Regions from separate parts of the Homo sapiens genome. Here region 2 is linked to region 1. The links are contacts of gene promoters, found by promoter capture Hi-C in blood cells and fetal thymus (Javierre and others, 2016). All regions are on one chromosome and are shown on one strand. The core of a region is centred on a gene start or on the middle of the fragment in contact, and the rest is flanking DNA. Distances in the headings are between cores, read along the strand shown.

Region 1 (7,959 bases), core at 2,174-4,673:
GAAAAAGTCAAATAAAAGAACTGAAAACGTTTTTTTCTCAAAACACTCATCAAAGCAGCAGCAATTTTAATGTAAAAAGAGCTCCACAGGCTAGGCGCAATGGCTCATGCCTGTAATCCCCGCACTTTGGGAGGCTGAGGCGGGTGGATCACAAGGTCAGGAGATTGAGACCATCCTGGCCAACATGGCAAAACCCTGTCTCTACTAAAAATACAAAAATTAGCCAGGTGTGATGGCACACGCCTGTAGTCCCAGCTACTCGGGAGGCTGAGGCAGGAGAATCACTTGAACCCGGGAGGCAGAGGTTGCAGTGAGCCGAGATGGCGCCACTGCACTCCAGCCTGGGTGACAGAGAAAGACTCCGCCTCAAAAAAAAAAAAAAAAAAAAGAGCTCCATAAAGGCAGATACTTTTTTCCCTGTATCCCTGGCACCTATCACAGTGCTAGGCACATAGCAGACCATCAATAAATATGAGCTGAATAAATAATGAGTGATTACTTTGTTCAAGATGCCACAGGGGATGCAAGCCAAGAAGATGCAGTTCCTACCATTACATCTAGAAATTTAGGATCAAAGGATAAGACGAAAATGCAAACAGACCCAAAACAAGCCAAAATGTAAATGGCACCAAAGGAAATGGCACGGAAAGGCGAAGCCCATCCAAATGCAGGGGATAAAGAACTTTCAGAACGGAGTTCTAAAAGATGGGAATATTTTGATGCTAAAGATGGATGATGGGAGGGGGAATGAAGTGCAATAGTGCGGTCCAAATAAAGCCATCCTCACAGGGCTAACAAGAATTCTGGACAAAGGCCAGGCGTGGTGACTCATGCCTGTAATCTCAGCACTTTGGAAGGCCGAGGCAGGCGGATCACAAGGTCAGGAGATCGAGACCATCCTAGCTAACAGTGAAACCCCGTCTCTACTAATACAAAAAATTAGCCGAACATGGTGGCAGGCGCCTGTGGTCCCAGCTATTCAGGAGGCTGAAGCAGGAGAATGGTGTGAATCTGGGAGGTGGAGCTTGCAGTGAGCCAAGACCGTGCCACTGCACTCCAGCCTGGGCACAGAGCAAGACTCTGTCTCAACAACAACAAAAAAAATTATTCTGGACATCTGGACAGAAATGTAGTTATAATTGGCTGGGCGCAGTGGCTCACACCTGTAATCTCAGCACTTTGGGAGGCCGAGGCGGGATGATCACTTGAGGTCAGGAGTTCAAGACCAGCCTGGCCAACATGATGAAACCCCCGTCTCTACTAAAAATACAAAAATTGGCTGGGTGTGGTGGCGTGCGCCTATAATCCCAGCTACATGGGAGGCTGAGGCAGGAGAATCGCTTGAACCTGGGAGGCGGAGGTTGCAGTGAGTGGAGATTGCACCATTGCACTCCAGCCTGGGCAACACAGTGAGACTCCATCTCAAAAGAAATGTAGTTACAATTAACCATTAATCAAGTTGCCTTTTTTTTTTCAAGAGCACAAATCCACATTGATTTATTGACTTTTCATTAGTTTAAATCCTTGAGGGGTACAGCATTACTCGGATTCTGTGTCCAACAGCCTTAGCAGGAAGATTGCTTCAGAATTTGGCACGAATCATGCCATTGTTTCTGTGGGCCCGAGTTACCTTTCCCCAGATTACTCTGGCTTTGTTTGATTTGCCGCCAGGAGTCACTATGTTGTTCTTTGCTTTGTATACATGAGCCCAAATAGAATTCTGTTTCATCTCGGGCATAAACACCTTCAATTTTAAGAAGAGCTGTGTGCTCCCTTTGGTTCCGGAGACTCCACTTATAGCCAGCAAAAATGGCCTTGGACCACAGCCTTCCAGACATATTTCCTTTCAGAAGTCCTGCTCCCGGCAGGCCGCCACAGGAGCCAAGATGGCAGGAAGAGCTCAGGTTGCACTCTGACCTACTTGCTAGTAACCAAAAGTCACAGATACTATTTGCATCCCCATTGATTTTACAGATAGGATTTCTAAAATTAGAATCATAAGGCTTTTGCTTAAGAGTTGCTTTAGATGTTTTTCAGATCTCGAATTCCAGCAAAACTGATGCTGCCAACCAGTTTGAAGACTCCTCCCCGCAACAGAGGAACGGAATCAGCATGAGAAGTTTCCTCATCTCCCTGTCCCATAACTTCACCCTTCACTCTTCCACCAATCAAGGATCTCCACACTTCAGCAAAAACATGAGGTCCAAACTCCTGAAGGAGATGGATTTGAGGTTTCCTCTCTTTTCCCATCTCCTCGTTCAGCGGCCCTGCAACTGAAACTCTTTCTCTGCTGCAACCCACTGTCTGAGTGTATTGACTTATCGAGCACACTGAGCAACAGACCTATTACAGTTACACAAAGAGATGTCAGAAGAGAAACGGTGTTTGATCTGAATGAAAGACATATAAAGGGAAGTTAAGTCCAATTATCGATGTCAGGCTGCGACTTCTGTGCTAAATTTTTTTGGAAGTTAATGGGGAACTACTGAAAACGTCTATGCAGGTCAAGTGAAGCAATCAAAGTTGCAGTAGAAAAGTAGTGTTGGGGCTGAGACTCAGGAAATCTGAGGTTTTAGGCCATTTGGAACCAGTAACTATGTGACCTTGGAGAAGTAACTCATTATCTGGCCCTTATTTAAGATTAGGATAAACGAGAGGAGTTTGGCAACCAGTACAGTTAGTCAGGCGCCAGGCACCCAAGTATTCACATGCATTGTCTTTTAATTCTCTTTTAAGCCAGGCGAGGTAGGTACTATTACTACCTCCACTTTAAAACAGGAAGTAAGGCAGAGAGCGGTTCCGTCTTTTGCACGGTAGACAGGAGAAAAGAGGACCCCTAGATAGGTTTGAGTTAGAAGACTTCAAAGGATTCTTGTTGCTCTAGGAGCCTACAATGGCTCCAGCAGCGGCTGAGCGGGGAAAGGCTGGAAGTGACCAGTAAAGAGAGAAAACTTAAAATCATGCAAAGAAAGAGCACATTCACTGCGGTCTAAGACATCACAGAAAGTTGGCAAGTCCTTTGGGCCACGGACTCGCCGAGTGACCTTTAGCCAAGTCTCGTCCCTCCTATCAGGTTCCTGCTCGAAGGTCTGCAAGACTCGCTGGCCCGAGGCGACCTCTTTTCGGCCTCCTCCACCCAGCCCGGCACCCTTGGCACCCTCTCTCCCGGTGAACCCTGGGCGCAGCCACGAGAGCGTCTCCCCGCGGCGCCCGTCTGCCCTGCTGGCCCAGAGGCCTCGCAGCCCGCGGGTCGCTGGGCCTCTTACCCGGGCGTGCACAGTCCCCATGGTTCCCTCTCCAGCCGCTGCCTCGCAGAGCTGCCCGGGCGGGACAGAGCGTCTGCTGCTGAGGGCAGAAGGCGGGTCCGCGGTGGCGGAGCTGCAGGTCAAGGCAACTCCCACAAACCCCCGGACGCGGAACACTGGGGGCGGCCATGATTCCCCGCCTTCTCCGCGCCCCCTGGCTCGCGATGCCTTCGCTCATTGGTCCTTATGCGCCTGTGACCCGGATGTTCACACGGCCGCGGAGGACGTTCTGACTGCGCAAGCGAAGAGCGTTCACTGACATCCGCGAAGCTGCTGGCGCGTGGACTGTGTGGGGAGGGCGCGTGGGGTGAAGGTGGGTCTGCGAGAGGGTCCGCTGGGAGGCTGGCGTCTGGCGTTGGCGCCTGAAAGAGATCAGACCAGCTGTTGGGTGTCACTCAAGTCCTGCTGCTCTTAGCCCTCCTAGCACCCCCGACCCGAGGGTGCTGTGCTTGTGCCCACGCGCCGGTGAAGCCCCGAGACTCAGCGGGGAGACCCCGGGTCCGGCCACCCCCGAGCTGCAGTAGTCGGGTCTCACCGGCATCTGCTACACAAACCCGGATTGGTGCCCTGGCTCCTTTCGTTCAAGTCATTGGAACCCCCACTCAAAATCGTCAAAATGAAGACGATGGTCGTGTCTCCTTCTTGGGGGTTGGATTAAAAGGGCCTAATGTGAGAGACGGAAAGCAAAGCTCCCGGCACCGGGCCGGGCACACGGTGGGCGCTAGATAATGACCGCTATTCACTCAACTGCAGCCAGTAATTATGGGCGAGGGCCATCTAGGTGCTTGCATGAGAACCAGTCATATCGGTGAAGAAGACGGCCATGGGCTTAGGTTTTGGTGGCAAAACAGCTCCCCTGCCCCAAAAAAGAAAAGAGAATAGAAAAGAAAAAGGCATAATAAATATCAGCCACACATTGTGATAAGTATATTGAAAGAAACGAGACAGAATAAGAAAAGAGGAAGCTTCAGTATCCTGTCACGTTGCCACTCCCTTCTGATAACAGAAGCATCTTTTCTTCTGTCCCCTTACTCCCTCCCAGAAACCCTGACACCCTTTCCATTTAAATAGCAGCACCCTAGGCCTCCAACATCCCTGAGCTAAATATTCAAGTCCACATGTCCCTTCTTGCCTGGAAAGAGACAGAACCCAGCACCAGCCAGGCCCCTGCCCTTCCCTCACTCTCAGTTCCCTGAGCCTCAATTCCTTATCTGTAAAATGGAAATGATAGCCTAAGGCATAAGGTCTGAGGACCTCATGAGATCAAGCATGGGGCCTGGCACTCTGTAAACATCGAATCAACCAGATTTTCTTTGCCCAAACAGCCCTCTTTTCTTACACTTTCTTCCTCGTTATTCTTCTGAGTATGCCACTTGTAAAGGATAAGCCATGAGGTTGCCCTGCAGAGTGCAAGATGGTTGCAATATTTGAGAGCCTATTGTGTGTGAGGCCCTGGAGGATGGCAGAGGGAACAGGAGGAAAACAAAGTCACATGCTTTACCCTCAAACAAAGGGCTGTCTGCGATAGTTACAATGTATATATTAAAGGCTATCTGTGATAGTTACAATGTATATAATATATTAAAGGCTGTCTGTGGTAGTTAACAATGTGTATATTAAAGGCTGTGATAGTTACAATGGGTATACTATATTAAAGGCGGTGGTAGTTACAATGTATATAATATATTAAAGGCTGTGATAGTTACAATGTACATAATATATTAAAGGCTGTGATAGTTATAATGTATATATTAAAGGCTGTCTGTGATGGTTATAATGTATATAATATATTGAAGGCTGTCTGTGATGGTTATAATGTATATAATATACTGAAGGCTGTCTGTGATAGTTAAGATGTATATATTAAAGGCTGTCTGTGATGGTTACAATGTATATAATAAAGACTGAGAAGTCTCACAGTGCATATACTGGTTTCCTTCTCTTTAACCCAGTATTTCTTGAATTTATTGGGTCATAGAGATTTTTGGTTTTGGAGATTTTTCTGTGGCCTCTGGCAATGCTATTCAACAGTATTTCTTGTGCTCCTCTTTTGGGCACAAGAGAGGATTGCATCTCCCTGCTCCCATCCATGTGACTTGCTTTGGTCAACACATTGTGAGCAGAAGAGAGATGTGCCACTCTGGATGAGAACCTTTAAGAACCATATTTCTCTAACCATGCCATGGCAATCAGCGATCCCCCAATGGTGGGGCACCTACAGGCTAGGTCTGGGAGTGAGGACGACTTAAAATGAAGCCCAGCCACATTTGCTGGACATACAGCACGAATGAGAAATAAACCTTTTGGGTTTTGCTTGTTAATGCAGCATAACTCAGCCTATCCTATATGATAATACCAGCTAGAAACATCTTCAAGGAAACCAGCATCCCAGAAAACCTGGTTTACAAAGTGCCAATCTTGTCCAATCAGAAGTAGAAGTGCAGTTTAGTGACTAAGCTAGTTTCCTTAATACAATCCAGGCTGAGTGCAATGGCTCATACCTATAATCTCAGCACTTTGGGAGGCCGAGGCAGGAGGATTGCTTGAGCCCAGGAGTTCAAGATCAGCCTAGGAAACACACCCCATCACTACAAAATAAAAATAAAAAATAAAAAAAATAGCTGGGCATAGTAGCAAGCACCTGTAGTCCCAGCTACTCCAGAGGCTGAAGCAAGAGGATTGCTTGAGTCCAGGAGTTCAAGATCAGCCTGGAAAACAGTGAGACCCCATCTCTACCAAAAAAAAAAAAAAATGTTTTTAATTAGCTTTTAATTTATTTAATTAAAACCTCCTCAGGAAGCTGAAGGAGGAGGATTGCTTGAGCCCAGGAGGTCAAGGCTGCAGTGAGCTGTGATTGTGCCACTGCACTCCAGCCTGAGCAACAAAGCAAGACCTTGCCTCAAAAAAGTAAAGAAAAACACCCCAAATTTAATTGGCCATGGGGAGGGGAGACTGGATCTTCCCACGGGAGTCATCCACCTATTAGTTTGGGACACCCCTTGGGGTGCCCTTTTTCATCACCTTCCCAGGGGCTGAGCGCCCTGAGGTGAGGGGCTCACCTCATTGCCTCTATCAGCCAGCACCTGACCTCTGAGGAGTGAAGGTGAATCAGTGAGAGGAGCCTGGAAGGGCATTCCCTGGGTGGAGGTCCCCTCGGGAAGCAGGGTGACTCAGGGAAGAGGCTCTGAGCTGCTGGTGGGACTGCAGGAGCTGGAGAGGGTGTGCTAGGAGGGAGTCTGGAGGCAGAGGAAGGCGCTGGGGTTGTGGCGGGGCCTCAGCTTGCCCAGCAGCAACGTGGGTCCCCTCGGGAAGCAGGGTGACTCCGGGGAAAGGCTCTGAGCTGCTGACAGGGCTTCAGGGGCTGGAGGGGGTGTACTGGCAGGGAAGGCCTGGAGGCACAGGAAGGTGCTGGGGGTGTGGTGGGGCCTCAGCTTGCCCAGCAGCAACGTGGAGGGCAGATGGGCCCAAGGCTGAAAACAGGCGGCCCCCAGAGGGAAGCTGTTGCAGCAACCCAGGTAGAAAGTACCAGGGCTGACCCTGGCAGCAGTGGGCTGGGGACAAGAGACCAGATTCCAGAGATGACAGCAGAGGCAGTGCTGGGACCAGCTGGAGTTGGAGCGAGGGAGTCTCCCTGAGTCCCCAGTTCCAGGCTGGGGTGGCTTTGGAGCTGCAGAGCTGAGGTGCTGTGAGCTGGAGGGCTTGATGTTGAGGGGCTGCTGGTGTTGAGTAGAGCCAGAAGGTGGGTAGGTGGCCCCGAATCCCCCCAGAGTCAGAGACTGAGGACCCAGGTCCTCAGGGGGAGCACAGCCTTCCCAGAGGTGGCTGTGCACACTCAGCACAGCAGCTGCAGCTGGGCCTTGGTGACAAGCTCGGTGTCCAGGATAGAGATGGGGTGCCTGAGAGTCTGGGGTTGAGGAAGGAGAGGGATTCTAGGAGGGTCTGGTCCACAGTGCCCAGGAAAGAGCCCCTGGGCTGTGGCAGGGCCATCAAAGGAGCAAGGCCGTAACCCCCTAGGGAGGACTGTCCTAGAGGAGCTTGGCTGTGAGGGAAGCAGGGTACATCGGGGCTCCTTGGAAAGGATGTACACAGGGAGAGTCCTTTAAGAATCACGTTTATTAGGAGTTATTTTCTCATGCTGAAAGTGATGCATACCGTTCACCATAGAAACTTGGGCAACACATATAAGCACGACAAATAAAATACAATTACAAATAACAGTCTGCCATAAGGGTTTTGATATATATCCTTAGTCTTTTTTTTTTTTTTTTTTTTTTTTTTTGAGGTGGAGTCTCACTGCATCTCGGGTCACTGCAACCTCCACCTCCTGGGTTCAAGTGATTCTCCTGCCTCAGCCTCCCTGGTTGCTGGGATTACAGGTGCCCGCCACCATGCCCAGCTAATTTTTGCATTTTTTAGTAGAGATGGGGTTTCACCCAGTCTGGTCTCAAACTCCTGACTTAAGTGATCCGCCTCCCTCAGCCTCCCAAAGTGCTGGGATTACAGGCATGAGCCACCGTGCCCAGCCCTCTTTCAGTCTTTTTATATACACTCAAAGATACATATACACACCCACACACATTTTTTTTTTAAACAAAATCAGGCTCATACTCTGCACTAAGTTTAGCCATTTACCAAATGAAGAATGTTGGACCAG
Region 2 (7,959 bases), core at 2,476-4,975, 130 kb before region 1:
TGCTGGGGCATGAGGTTCCAGCCCATTTCTCAAGATGAAATAAGTTGAGAAGCTAAAAGAAATGTGTGAACATTTCAATAAGGTAAATCCAAAGAAGGTCAACAGGTGGCGCAGACTCCACATCAAGAGCTCACTGCTGAAACCCTGTCCTATTCAGATGGCAGCAAGCCTTGGGCATGACAGCCTGCTGATCTAACTAACACTGGTGGATGGATGCCAAAGGGCTGGGCATGGGGCTGGGCAGGCCCTGCCCTTGCACCGTGGAGAGTCTGCGTGTAGCCGAGGGAAGACGTATCCTGGTCACTTCCACCCAGCAGCCGACCTCGCACCTGGCACAGAAGGCTCGTGAAGGATTCGATGCACAATTAATTAAGTGCAATACATAGCATGGTGTTGAGATTTTTTAAAAAAGCAAAAGCAGGTTGGGCCAGCTGCAGTGGCTCACACCTATAATCCCAGAACTTTGGGAGGCTGAGGTAGGTGGATGGCTTGAGCTCAGGAGTTCGAGACCAGCGGGGCAACAAGGCAAAACCCCATCTCTACACAAAATACAAAAATTAGCCAGGAATGGTGGTGTGAATCTGTAGTCCCAGCTACCCAGGAGGCTGGGAAGAAAGTTTGAAGCCGAGAAGCGGAGGTTGCAGTGAGCCAAGATCACGCCACTGCACTCCAGCCTGGGTGACAGAGCCAGATCTTGTCTCAAAAAATTAAAAAGAAAAAGAAAAAGAAAAAGAAAACCATGTTGCAGAACAATACAGCAAAGGCTGGGTGTGGTGGTGTACATCTGTTGTCCCAGCTACTTGGAGCTGGGGTGGGAGGATCACTCGAGCCCAGGGGTTCAAGTCCAGCCTGGGCAACATGGTGAGACACTTTAAAATAAATACAGCATGATATTTATGTAAAAAATACAACTAGAAAACTCACCACTATGTATTTCTATGTGTACGTATCAAAATTCACAGAAAAAGAAATGAAAGGGCATGCTCCAGAATGACAAGAGCAGCATTACTGATGCAAGGCCCAGTGGCTGAAGGTAAGGAGGAGACAGAGGGAGGCTCTGCCACCAGACTGTGTTCTTGTACTCCTTTTGAAATAAAAATAAAGCTACAAGAATGGAAAATAAACAGATGTCCTGGCAGGGTTATGTACAGGGTGCAGTGGGGACCCTAAAGGAAACAAAGTGGCAGCCAATTCTACAGGGAAGGACACACACTGGGTTCAACCATAGAAATGGCTCTGAGACCCAGAAGGAGTCTCGGGCCTCTCCCGGCAGCACTGGCTGCCTCGGGGGACACAGTGAGCTACCCTGAAGGAGGGAGGAAGCTGGGGAGGGAAAGTCCTGCACGGTCCCATCCCCACAGATGACTGCAGAATAATAACATGACTCTGAGACTATGGGTGACAGCAAAGGCCCTGGCATGAGTGTCTGTGCCAAGAACGCAGCGGAAAGAACCAAGATGCCAGACCTGGGAGTACCCTTGGCAGGCTCACATCTCGTGCCCTATTCTTGGATTGGCCAGTGGGGCTTTCTCACCAGGATGGCCACCTTGGCCCCTGCAAGCCCTGCCCTAAACTCTTCCCACCCCAGCCCAGCCTCTCCCCTTCTGGAGGTGACTGTTATGGACACCATTGCTTTTCTTCTCCAGCATCCATTGATCCTTTCAGGCAAACAAGACTCAGCCTCCCTCAGAGAGAGCCACCCCTCCTGCCACCATGCTCGGGCCTTGTAGTTCAGCTCTGGGGTGGAGCAGGCATCCCAGGACAAAGCCAGCTGGCACACTGGCCTCCCAGGAACACAGTCAGGGATGGGCATGGCCCAGTTAGAGCTAATGAACTGCACTGAGACTTTACCAGGAATAGAGAATGAGACAGGCACTCCTTCCCACTGGCCTTGACCCAGAAAGGATGGAGGTTGAAGCCGTCCCATCATCTTACCACTATACAGAGCCTGGAGATGAAGGCACCAGATCGAAAGAGCTCGGGGAAGGGGAGAACAGAATCTAGGATCTAGCAACACCTTCTATGTGCTGGATCAAGCCTTACCTGAGGCCATCCAACCCCACAGACCATTCTGTCAAATGTACCAGTGAATTCTGTTTTGCTTTTAAGCCATTTTGAGTTGGGTTTTCTGTCCTTTGCAAACCAAGAGAGTCCTGTCTGATGTAGAAATCCTTCCAATACACAAAGCTGGCGTTGGTCACTCCCTGCTGCAGTGCACCCCATGGCTCCCACCAGCTCCAGGGTAAAACGCAAAACCTTCATAGTGGTACCCGATGACTGTTAATGAGCAGACCCCTCCTCTCATCAATACAGCTGCAGTTACCATGCTTCCACACTCATCGTCTGATGAGGCCATTCCAGGCCACTTCTGTAGGTCATATCTCTGCCCCTCTGCTCGACTGTCCCCACAACCTGCAATGCCCTTCACTTCAGGTCAGCTAGCTCCACCCATTTCCCACCGTCTGGAAAGCACACTCTGCACATCCTCTATCCCTGGGTGCAGTTCGGGCCCCTCCTCTGGGTTTCCACAGCTCCCCGTGCACATGACAATGACAAACCCTATTCCCCGATCATGTGATTGTGGACTGTGCTCATCTCCCTGCACCCCCCGACCCCGCAAGGAGTGCACAGGGGCCAGGTCCCATTCATGACCATGGCCTCACATCCTGCATAAAACCCAGCACATGGATAACTGCTCTCTGAATATCTGTGGAATGAATGAATGAATGAACACAAATGCTAAGCTTATGTAGGCCAAATGGAGCTACATAGATAATTTCTACAAGAGAAAGTCAGGGAACTGAACTGACGGCTCTCACACAGCATCCCACCTCCAGCCACTTAATTGGGTGGAAAAAGAGGGTTTCCATTAAGGTTTACATTAGCCTGGCAGTCGTGTTTCACAAGGAACCCAATTACCCTGATGTGGCCACGTAGAGGCTGATGGGCTCAGGAGGAAGGAGTCCGCTCCGCAATTAGGGACTTGCTAGTACAAGCAGCCCAGGAGCCAACATCCCCCCAGCCTCACCTCCTGGGGTGTGCATTCCGACCAGCCACCTGCTGCAGGAATCTGAAATACAGACCACCCCGAGATGGAAGGAGTCCATCTGGCTCAGGGAAACTGGGTCTTCTGAATACGAAAAGTTGCTTACATAGAAATGTAAAAAAAGCTCCGAAGCCCATGTTAAACAGATGATTCCCTTGGCCCAGAAACACGGTCTTTTCTTCCCCTTTGTCCCTGGGGTGATCAGGAAAATGTTAGAACCACAGAAAAATGAATCCTTTGTGGGAAGGAGAACAGGAAGAAAGACTTCCAGGTGCACGGTAAAATGTCAGGTTGGCCGTCTAACCCACCTGGGCGAGAAACCGGGGCATGGAGGGGCCGGTGAGCTTCTTGTCTACAAAGGAGGACACATTCTTTAGAGACAATGATGATCTGATTGGTTTCTCAGACTGAAAGCCACATGAGTCAGTTTTTGTTTTTTGTTTTTTGTTTTTGTTTTTGTTTTTGAGACGGACTCTTGCTCTGTCGCCCAGGCTGGAGTGCAGTGGCTCGATCTTGGCTCACTGCAACCTCCACCTCCCAGATTCAAGCGATTCTCCTGCCTCAGCCTCCTGAGTAGCTGGGATTACAAGTGTGCACCACCACACCCAGCTAATTTTTGTATTTTTAGTACAGATGAGGTTTCACTATGTTGGCCAGGTGGATCTCGAACTCCTGATTTCAAGTGATCCACCTGCCTCGGCCTCCCAAAGTGCTGGGATTACAGGCACGAACCACCGCACCTGGCCAACTTCTTTAATTCCTCCCTTCAATTGCCACCCTTCCGGAGCACGGGAACCTACCGCCCAGTGCCCCCACCTTGCGGTGCACAGTGGGATACACATCCCCAAAGCCAGCCTCCCCCGCCCCAAAAAAGAGCTACCCCATTTGCCTCCCGTTTTCTCGGCCCCTCACCCTCAGCTCCAGTGCCCAGCAGCCACTGCCTCCTGACCACTCTCATCCTAATTCCTTAGCAAGTCCTTCGACGCAAGCCTCTGCCTCTGTGATTTTCAGAGGCTGCGTCTGTCACATTTCTCCAACCCATCACGCTGGCTTTCAGGGGGTACTTCCAAATGATTTCAGTCACTGGTCATGAAATCTGTCATTAGCTAATAATAAGAAGAAAAGAGCCTCGAGGCAGCAGAAGGTGGGGGCAGGGTGTGAAACCCAAAAGAAACAATTCTCAGAAGAGGATGCCAACCTTTCCCCTGGCGTGTGTCACCGTCACCGCCCCTCCGAGCCCAGCCACTTGCCAGCAAGCTGCACAATGAGCCCCACCGAGGCGGGGGGCAATGGAACCCGCTGCTCACTTCCAGCAACAGACGAGCCCCATGAGACTGCCAGGCTCTTAGAGAAACGCACTTCATAAAGGAAAGCAGAAACGGCCGTGCAGAAGCTAAGTCTGGAGAAGCACGTTCGCTGGTTCCCAAGTTGTGAAACTCGTATTAATTAATGTGACTGGTAACGTCCCAATGTATCCAGGGAAGTCCAAAGCGTTGTCTGCTGAGAAAATAAGAAGATTAAATCATTAAGTCGTTAGAAAAAGAAAGGCTTTACTATGCACCTGCCATGGAAACGGGGATGTGGGAAAGGCCAGAAGGACAGTGCCCTCTAGCGGCTGTCTCCCCTGCAGAAGTGACACAGATGCCTCCATGAAAGCTTCCCCCAACAGGAGGACCCGGCCTGCTTCGGAGACAGGCCCCTTCCAAAAGCAGGTGGATTTGGGGAGTGCTGGAAGCCATTGGCCTCTGGTGCTGGCAGCTCAGTTCCCACCTGAGATACTCAAAGAACCACCATGGCACTGCCTTGGGCCCCACCGGGCACAGACAACTCTACCCATCAGGAACAGATGCAATGCCCACAGCAGAAAAGGAGAAAGGCCTTCACGGCCCACAGGGGTCCCCACACCCCTGCTGGAGACTGCACCTTTGGAGGAACAGCCCCAAACAAGGGATGGAGGGATGACGGCAGGTGGAGAGTCACTCCATGACCCCACAAAGCAGGTCAGGTTCCCCACTCCCCGCATCCATTCCCCTTCCTCTCCTTTCGAGGCACTATTAGTCTAAGGCACATCTGTGCTACAGGATTTGCGTCTACAGTGCTCTGAAAGGACAGATGCATGGCCTGCTCTGTCTCCCCTGCTCCCAACATGACGCCTGGACTGAGGCAGGTGCTCCGTGAACACTCGGTGAATTCATGAATGAATGAATCAGGGTTTCGGGACTCTACCATTCTCTCTACTGCAGTGTCTCCTGTAAAAACTCAAAGGATGTACTTTCTACTCCATCTGTCACTGTCTCTATGGAAGGCTGGATCTTGGTCCCTGCAAAGATGTCCACATCAAGTCCCAGGAAACTGTGACTTTGCATGGCAAGAGGGAGTTTGCAGATGTGATTAGGTAAGGACCTTGGGGTGGGAGATTAGCCTGGATTATGCAGGGGGCCCAATGTGATTGACAGGGTCCTTACAAGAGGAAGCAGGAGGGCCAGAGCCAGAGGAGGTGTGGCGAAGGAGACAGAGAAAGATCGGGAGATGGCTTTGAAGACAGAGGAAGAGGCCAGGCACTAAGGAACGCAGGTGCCTCTGCAAGTTGGAAAAGGCAAGGAATGGGATTCTCCCCTGGAGCCTCCGGAAGGAACCGGCCCTGCTGCCACCTTGATGTTGGGACTCCTGACCTCCAGAACTGTAAAATAATAGATTTGTGTTGGTTTAAACCACTGGGTTTGTGGTATTTTGTCACAGCAGCCCTAAGTAAATTAACAGCCTCAAGAGAGCCCCAGCAACTCCACGTAATTTCAAAAAGCCTGGAACATTCTTTGCAGCAGTTTTACTGAGCCCTGCTCCACACCGGGTGCCCCCTGGCACAAGCGTTACTGAAACTGACATGGCTTTGTTCACGCAAGCAGAATGAATATTAAACAAGCACAGAGGACGCATCTGACCAACACTGTGGATAAAATCACAACTGGCCCTAAGGCTGCCGCGGGCCATTCTCCTGTGACACCAAGGTCTGAGGAGGTTGCCTCCTTATTAGCAAATCCGGAACAATGTTTTTTTTGAGAAGGAGTCTTGCTCTGTCCCCCAGGCTGGAGTGCAGTGGCACAATCTCGGCTCACTTCAACCACCACATCCTGGGTTCAAGCGATCCTCCTGCCTCAGCCTCCCAAGTAGCTGGGATTACAGGCGCCCACCACCATGCCCGGCTAATTTTTGTATGTTTAGTAGAGACGGGGTTTCACCATGTTGGCCAGGCTGGTCTCGAACTCCTGACCTCAAGTGATCCACCCACCTCGGCCTCCCAAAGTGTAATGTATTGTTTTCAATGTGCAAAAACAACTGGATGGCCTCACAGTCAGCACGACCTGAAGTCAGTTCTCCACCGGTGGCTTCTCAGAATGGCTTAGCACAGCAGCCGCTGGCTAAAGGGCTGAGTAAGGGGTCAGATTCCCTCACCCTCTGTCCTCCTCAGCCTGGGGATTTAATGGGTTCACAGGAAGTAGCCAGGGATGAGCTAACTGCTTGACGTTTTCAGACACAGCTGTGTCCCACAAACCTTGCTGTTCCTTGAGCCTGTGTCTCCTCTTTGTCCCCAAGAACACGTGACACAGATGGCTTCTCGATCCTGCTACTGTCCCTCCAATTACTGGCCTACCAGGTTCTCAGGCTGGAGCCCGGGCATTTTCAAACACAAGGATGGTGCACTAGCTCTTCTGCATGGACGTCATTCAAGTCACTAAAAACGGTGAATATCAGCCCAGATGTCAGCACCATCAGCCTCCTGGACCAAGCACACCCATCTATGGTGGACCAAGCACCAGGAGCACACCAGCAGGCTGGCAAAGAAGAGGACACACATTGCGGGAAACGTTGAGTGCTCAGTGAATTCATGAACGACTGAATCAGGGTTTGAGGACTCTACCATTCTCTCTACTGCAGTGTCTCTTGTAAAAACTCACAGGGGCCGGGCGCGGTGGCTCACGCCTGTTATCCCAGCACTTTGGGAGGCCGAGGCGGGTGGATCACCTTAGGTCAAGAGTTTGAGACCAGCCTGGCCAACATGGTAAAACCTCATCTCTATTAAAAATACAAAAAAATTAGCTGCACTTGGTGGTCTGCGCCTGTAATCCTAGTTACTTGGGAGGCTGAGGCAGGAGAATCGCTTGAACCCAGGAGTCAGAGGCTGCAGTGAGCTGAGATCTCGCCATTGCACTCCAGCCTGGGCGACAGAGTGAGACTCCATCTTAAATAAATAAATACTCAAAGGACCTATATTCTACTCCATCTGTCACTGCCTCTATGGAAGGCTGGATCATGGTCCCTGCAAAGATGTTCACATCAAGTCCCAGGAACCTGTGACTTCACATGGCAAGAGGGGGACTTTGTAGATGTGATTAGGTAAGGACCTTGGGGTGGGAGATTAGCCTGGTTATTCAGGGGGCCCGATGTGATTGACAGGGTCCTTACAAGAGGAAGCAGGAGGACCAGAGCCTTTTACTAGGTCCAGATACCTCCCTTACCACTTCCCCCATGCCTGCCCCGACATGGTAACCCTGGCCAGGAAAAGGTCAGGATGGTGGCAGAGAAGAGGGGAACTCAGTCCATGCTGTGGATTTAATTGTGTCCCCCTGAAAAAGATATGCTGGAGTTAGGCAGGTCCGGGTCTAACCACTCATCTGGGTGTGTGGCCTTGGGAAAGTTCACATCTCCAAGTGCCAATTCCAACATCAGTAAAAACAGTGACACAACCTTAAGTGAGGACTTCTCTGGAAGAGGGAGAGACAGACACACTGTGTCCAGCCAGTTCAACACAGTAGCTTGCCTGAGCTAAGGATGCAAACAGAGCTCACAGGACATGTGACAAGGACCCACGCTGTGAGCTTGGGGCTCCAAATTCAGGCTCCTTCCACCACACGGCT

Evidence for each region. The method cuts DNA at HindIII sites, captures the fragments that hold promoters and counts their contacts. A CHiCAGO score of 5 or more calls a contact.
Region 2: a fragment that was not itself captured here is called in contact with the fragment with the promoter of SAMM50 in region 1 in 2 of 17 cell types (total B cells and erythroblasts); the score reaches 7.0 in total B cells.

Annotation. Positions count from the first base shown.
Region 1 is chr22:43,950,906-43,958,864 of GRCh38, reverse strand. SAMM50 (SAMM50 sorting and assembly machinery component) reads right to left here and starts at 3,423. Exons shown (of 15, transcript NM_015380.5): 1 at 3,267-3,423. The coding sequence starts at 3,287. It also overlaps the pseudogene RPL35AP36. RefSeq lists enhancers at 2,679-2,888, 2,694-3,445, 3,569-3,648, 3,729-3,778, 3,446-4,198 and silencers at 3,331-3,605, 7,024-7,193. The HindIII fragment of the contact is 6,277 bases long and covers 1-4,272 here.
Region 2 is chr22:44,078,070-44,086,028 of GRCh38, reverse strand. The region is part of intron 1 of PARVB (parvin beta); the gene reads right to left. Among named protein-coding and RNA genes, the nearest start is that of PARVB, 58 kb to the right of the region's middle. The HindIII fragment of the contact is 1,958 bases long and covers 2,747-4,704 here.